Regions from separate parts of the Homo sapiens genome. Here region 2 is linked to region 1. Evidence: promoter capture Hi-C in human tissues and cell types (Jung and others, 2019). All regions are on one chromosome and are shown on one strand. The core of a region is centred on a gene start or on the middle of the fragment in contact, and the rest is flanking DNA. Distances in the headings are between cores, read along the strand shown.

Region 1 (2,746 bases), core at 180-2,679:
TTTGGCACTGGCCTGCAAAAACCTTAAGGACAAAGGCGGAGTAGGTAGAGGCAAGAGGAGACTCCACAAGTGTAAGGGTACAACCCACCGGCTTCTCCTATCGGTCCCCACCTCGGCGGATGGGCCCCACCCCAAGACAACCGAGCACAGAGAGACCGGCTGGGAGGAGCTTCGCAGGATGCCAGCACAATCCCCAGCTAAAACCAAACTCGTCGCTCATCCTGGGACCAGCCAAGGCCTGTCCTCAGCTCCGCCCGCGGCCCAGCGCCTGCGTTTTACAGCACCGGAGGCTGGATGAGGGGCCAGGGAAGGGAGTGCTCTTCCGACCACGGGGCGGGAGGGAAGGGGGCAGCCAGAAGCCTGGTTCCAATTTGGGAGCCTCCCCCGGATCTGCGCGGCCCCTGTCCACGTCTTAGTCTCAGCAGGGAAGGGAAGAGGAACCGCGAGGTTTCGCCTCGGGGCGGCTCGTCTGCGAGTGTGTGTCAGCCCCTCGGATCGCAGCCTGCGCTTGTCCCGGGAGACGGCGCGTCCGGCGCGGCGGTCGGGATTCTGGGCTGGGATTCTGGGCGGCGGCGGCGCTGCCGTCGGGCGGGAGCTGAGCGTCAGGGTTCCCGGGCGCGGGCGACAGTGGAAACGCTGGAGGGCAGGGAGAGGGTGCCAGGGCGCACCCGCGCGGGGCGGCGGCGGGGGAAGGGATTAAGGAGGCTGGTCTCCGGGGATTCCCCCGCCCCGATCGGGGCCGCGGCGGGCGCGGGCGGCCTCACGCCACCTCCTGCTTGCCCTGGCAGCGACGCCCGCAGCCATAGAGCGCCGAAAGCAGGTAGAGGCCGTGGCAGACGCCGCCGCAGACGGCGGCCGCCAGGAAGGCGTGGTAGGCGCAGGGGAGCGGGTAATCCTTGAGGTTGCAGTAGCTGTGGCGCTGCATCTGGTCGCTCATGATGCCGGTGGCGGCGCCGTAGAGCGCGGCCGCCAGCACATCGTGCGCCACGTTGACCATGAGCCAGCGCGAGCCCAGCACGGGGACCAGCTCGTGCTTGCCCAGCAGCGTGAGGAAGTAGAGGCCCAGGGTGAGCAGCCAGAAGAGCACGGACACGAAGAGCGCGAAGTGCACGGGGCCCTGGTACTTGCTGGTGGCGATAGTGATCCAGAAGGCAGCGCCGGCCAGCAGCTGCAGCAGCCGCAACACGCCCAGCGGGCTGCGCAGGAAGGGCCGCTGCAGGCGCACCGCGCCGCGGGCCGCACGCGCCTGGGGCGGCGGCTGGCGCGGGGGCGGCGGGAGCATGGCCCCTGGGCGCGGTGGCGGCGGCGGCGGCGCCCCGAGCAGCGGAATGGCGGCGCCTTGCTCGCGGGGGCAGCACGGCCCAGGTGCCCGCTGCGCCCGCCGCGGCCTCCTCGCCTTGCTCCCCTCTTAGTCCTCTCTTCCTCTCCTCCTTTCCCCACCCTTCCTCTCCTCTCTCCTCCCCTCGGCCCTCCTCGCCTTCTGTCTCCAGCTCTCCACCCTTCCCACCCGCCCCTTTCCCTTCCCCTTCCCCTCGGCTGTCTCCTCCCCCGCGCGCTCCTCCCGGCTTCCTGCCATCTCTCTTTCCATCTCGCTCACCACCCTGGCGCCCCCCTTTCCCCTCTGCGCCAGGCCCCCAGCTCGGATTCCTTCGTCCTCGGGCCAGGGCAGGGCGCATCTCCCAGCCCGACGCGGGCCTTCCGCCCTGTCCGCCCGTGCGCTGCTGCGCCAAGTTTGCCACATCTGGGGCCGCCCCTGCCCGCCCTGCCTCCTCCTTTTCCCTCTTTCCTGCCATAGCGCCCACCCCGGGCCTCTGGGCTCTTCCTGGGCGCGGGAGGAGAGCAGTGCTGGTTTTGAACTGGCATCCACTGTCACCTGGACATCCGCAGTCTCCTGCCAGGGCCCGCCTCGTCCTGTCCAAAGCTGTCCGAGTTACCCATGTCGGAGTAAGAGTCCATCACCCACCAGAGGCACCGCCACTCGTTCCACTCGGCACAAGCTTATTGTCCACACCCTCTTTTATCCAACCCTTCCTTGCCATCCTTCTGTCTTGCCCACATTCAAAATACGCTACCTAACATGGCTGGGACACAAACCCAGGGCCAAGAGGAAGCAAAGCCCACGGACTTAACTACTAGGCCGAACTGCCTGTGATGGAGGCTAACGATGCTTTACATTATTATTATTCCGTGCCACCGCTTTACCTGAGTTCTCATTTAACCCTCAAAACAACCACAGAGATACACGCAACTCCCCTCATTTTGCTGAGGAGGAATGAAGCCTACCTGGGTTCAGACCAGGAAGCTGGTAACTACCACCAGTCTCTCTTCTCTCCTTCATGCTCAACCTTTGTGCCCATGGCATCTTTCTTTTTTCTTTTTCCTTTTTTTTGTGGGGGGGGGGGTGGGGGGCGGTGGGGTAGAGTACTGTTCTGTCGTCCAGGTTGGAGGGCAGTGGAGCAATCTCTGCTCACTGCAACCTCCGCCTCCCGGCCTCAAGTGATTCTCCTGCCTCGGTCTCCCAAGTAGCTGGGACTACAGTCGCGAGTGCCACCACACCCAGCTAATTTTTGTATTTTTTTTAGTAGAGACAGGGCTTTGCCATGTTGGCCAGGCTGGTCTCGAGCTCCTGACCTCAAGTGATCTGTCCCCCTTGGCTCCCAAAGTGCTGGGATTACAGGCGTGAACCACCAAGCCAGGTCATGACATCTTTCTAAAAGACAGACCTGATGTTTGTTACACTGCTTCC
Region 2 (2,746 bases), core at 123-2,622, 260 kb after region 1:
TTGTCTACCTGCTGAAGAATAAAGATTTCTTTTGGTAATGGGGCTGTCAGATATTTCCCCCACCCCACATATGCCTCATATAACCAGAGGCATCACTGGAATAACAATGACAGGGATTGGCCAAAAATTTTTCAGGGTAACCAGGACAGTAGCACATGCCTGTAACCCCAACACTTCAGGAGGCTGAGGCAGGCGGATCACTTGAGGCTAGGAGTTTGAGACTAGCCCTGGCAGTATAGCAAGAACCCATCTCTACAAATAATTAAAAAAAAAAAAAAATTAAGCTGGGCATGGTGGCTGACGCCTGTAATCCCAGCATTTTGGGAGGCCGAGGCGCATGGATCAGTGGAGGTCAGGAGTTCAAGACCAGACTGGCCAACATGGTGAAACCCCATCTCCACTAAAAATACAAAAATTAGCCAGGTGTGGTGGCATACGCCTTTAATCACAGCTACTTGGGAGGCTGAGACACAAGAATCACTTGAGCCGGGCGCGGTGGCTCACGCCTGTAAAGCTTGTAATCCCAGCACTTTGGGAGGCCGAGGCGGATGGATCACAAGGTCATGACATCGAGACCTCCTGGCTAACACAGTGAAACCCCGTCTCTACTAAAAATACAAAAATTAGCCGGGTGTGGTGGCGGGCGCCTGTAGTCCCAGCTACTCGGGAGGCTGAGGCAGGAGAATGGCGTGAACCCGGGAGGCGGAGCTTGCAGTGAGCCGAGATCACACCACTGCACTCCAGCCTGGGTGATATAGAGCGAGACTCCGTCTCAAAAAAAAAAAAAAAAAAAAATCACTTGAAACTGGGAGGCGGAGGTTGCAGTGAGTCAAGATCGCGCCACTGCATTACAGCCTGAGAGACAGAGTGAGACTCCATCTCCAAAAAAAAAAAAAATGTAGGAAGCATGACCAGAACACCTACTCACTAGGTCTTGACCCTGACTTTCCCCTTCCCTGCCCTATCGTGAGGCAGAGAGTGAGAAGCTACATATCTTTAAAAATCGAATACCTTTATTTGTGCTCCCTTAAGCAGCATGTGAGAAGTGGCAGTGACCTCAGCAGCAGGCCTGGTATCTTTGCCCTGTTGAGAAGCCAAGATCTCAGCTGTACTAGTCAGGTGTTTTTTCAGACAGCAAGTAGAAGAGGTGGTGGCCAACTCCAGTGCTGTATCCTGGAGGAGGTCCGGGTCAGCACTGGGCAAGGTAGGTAGCTAGCTGCCTGACCCCTAGTCTGGGGTTGGAACTTCTGTTTGCCTGAGTAAAGGGATGTCAGTCCTAAGATTTCTCCACATTGTGTCTTTCTTCTGCAGTGGTAAAAAGGCTGGTCCTTGAATTGTCCTGCATGGTACCCTAAGGCAGGCCCACTGGCTCTTTTTGATCAAGGATTCTGAGAAAAGCTGCCCTTGGAGGCCCTTGAAATAACATAGGGAGCAGAATGAGTGCTCGAGTCGTGGCTGACACAGTCCAGCTCACACTGCCATCACAGAGGCTGAGTGAGCAGTCACCCAGGGAGGGGGCTCCCAGCTCATTCCATTCCCATGGGGCAAGTGACTAGAAGGTAAGAGCACCCGAGTAAGCCAGTGCCTAGAAGAGAAGAGAGAAATGTCTCTGAGTTCAAGAATTCTTGGTCCTTCCCAATCATCATTCCTTAACAAGCATACATCAAGGTATCCTGAAGCTACCTCGGTGTCAATCATGAAAGTAACAAAAGTTCTAATTTCTGCTACCCAATTTTATCCAACAAATGTACCTTTTGGTCCTTTGAAGGCCTTTTAAGGTTTCGAGCTAAACTTCTAAAGGTCCACTGTAAGCACAGTGATAGGAGTGTCATGTACATGGGAAAGGGAGGAGGGAAGGCACGTCTGTTCATCTGATTGTTACCGCCTCAGTAACTGCCATTTGAAAAATTGTTTCCCCTTGTCTTGGGCTGAGAGAGCTAGCTCCAGTTACTGTCTTAGGGCCTCTATGACAAGTAGATTATTTTAATCTCACAAATTATTGGCTTGAACTCTAGACACTGCTCTCCAAGTGAGAGGTGACTGGTGGCCACCATATCCTACACCCAGAGGCCCCTTCCTGAGCACAGCTTTCCTAGGATTCCACTGTAGTCACGTTGAAGCCTCATCTGTTACTTAAAACCACACAGTATTGGCCTCAAGCCTTTCTGGTTCAAATGGACAATGATCTCTATTCCTAGAGTCTAGAACTGTGCTAACACAGTAGCCACTAGCCATATTCCAAGTGCTCACAGGCATAGAACATCTTTCTCATCACAGTGTTCTGTTGGACAGCATTAGTCTGTGTGTCTTACATTACCTTCCTGTATCCACACCCAGGAATACCTTCCAGTTGTCCAAGCAGCCGTAGTTGTAAGGATTCCTAAATACCTGGAGCCAAGAAAAACATGTTTCTTTGAACTTCTAATTTTTCAGACTAAATTGGCTAAGCTAAAGCTCAGATAGAGTAGTTCTGGCCTTTTACAATGCTTGCCCTAGTCAGCCCTGCCCATGGCCTCTGTTTACAGGAGAGCAAGTTCAGTTACCCACCTACCCACCCCGAGCCTTCAACCCTACTCACTCTGCCCTTGGCCTGTAGCCGACGTCTCTCCTTCTTGTTGATGTGCCTTTCGATGCTAGTCTCACCTCGACTGATGAGAACAGCATGCCATACAGTTAGGGCACCCAGGGCAAGTGCCACAGAACTAAGAAAAGAGGGGCGAAGACTGGTGGGTAGTTTAGAGAGGGC

Evidence for each region. The method cuts DNA at HindIII sites, captures the fragments that hold promoters and counts their contacts. A contact is called where the count stands out against the background at its distance.
Region 2: a contact is called between a fragment that was not itself captured here and the fragment with the promoter of MARVELD1 in region 1, in 1 of the 25 tissues and cell types used here (hippocampus).

The regions. Positions count from the first base shown.
Region 1 is chr10:97,712,413-97,715,158 of GRCh38, reverse strand. It overlaps MARVELD1 (MARVEL domain containing 1), which reads right to left and starts at 1,429. Exons shown (of 2, transcript NM_031484.4): 1 at 1-1,429. The coding sequence starts at 1,282. The coding sequence ends at 761. RefSeq lists a silencer at 538-757 and an enhancer at 1,068-1,117. The HindIII fragment of the contact is 16,034 bases long and covers 1-2,746 here.
Region 2 is chr10:97,455,616-97,458,361 of GRCh38, reverse strand. ZDHHC16 (zDHHC palmitoyltransferase 16) reads right to left here. Exons shown (of 12, transcript NM_198046.3): 10 at 2,579-2,702; 11 at 2,318-2,388; 12 at 992-1,585. The coding sequence ends at 1,471. It overlaps MMS19 (MMS19 cytosolic iron-sulfur assembly component), which reads left to right. Exons shown (of 31, transcript NM_022362.5): 31 at 1-38. Among named protein-coding and RNA genes, the nearest start is that of ZDHHC16, 11 kb to the right of the region's middle. The HindIII fragment of the contact is 5,805 bases long and covers 1-2,746 here.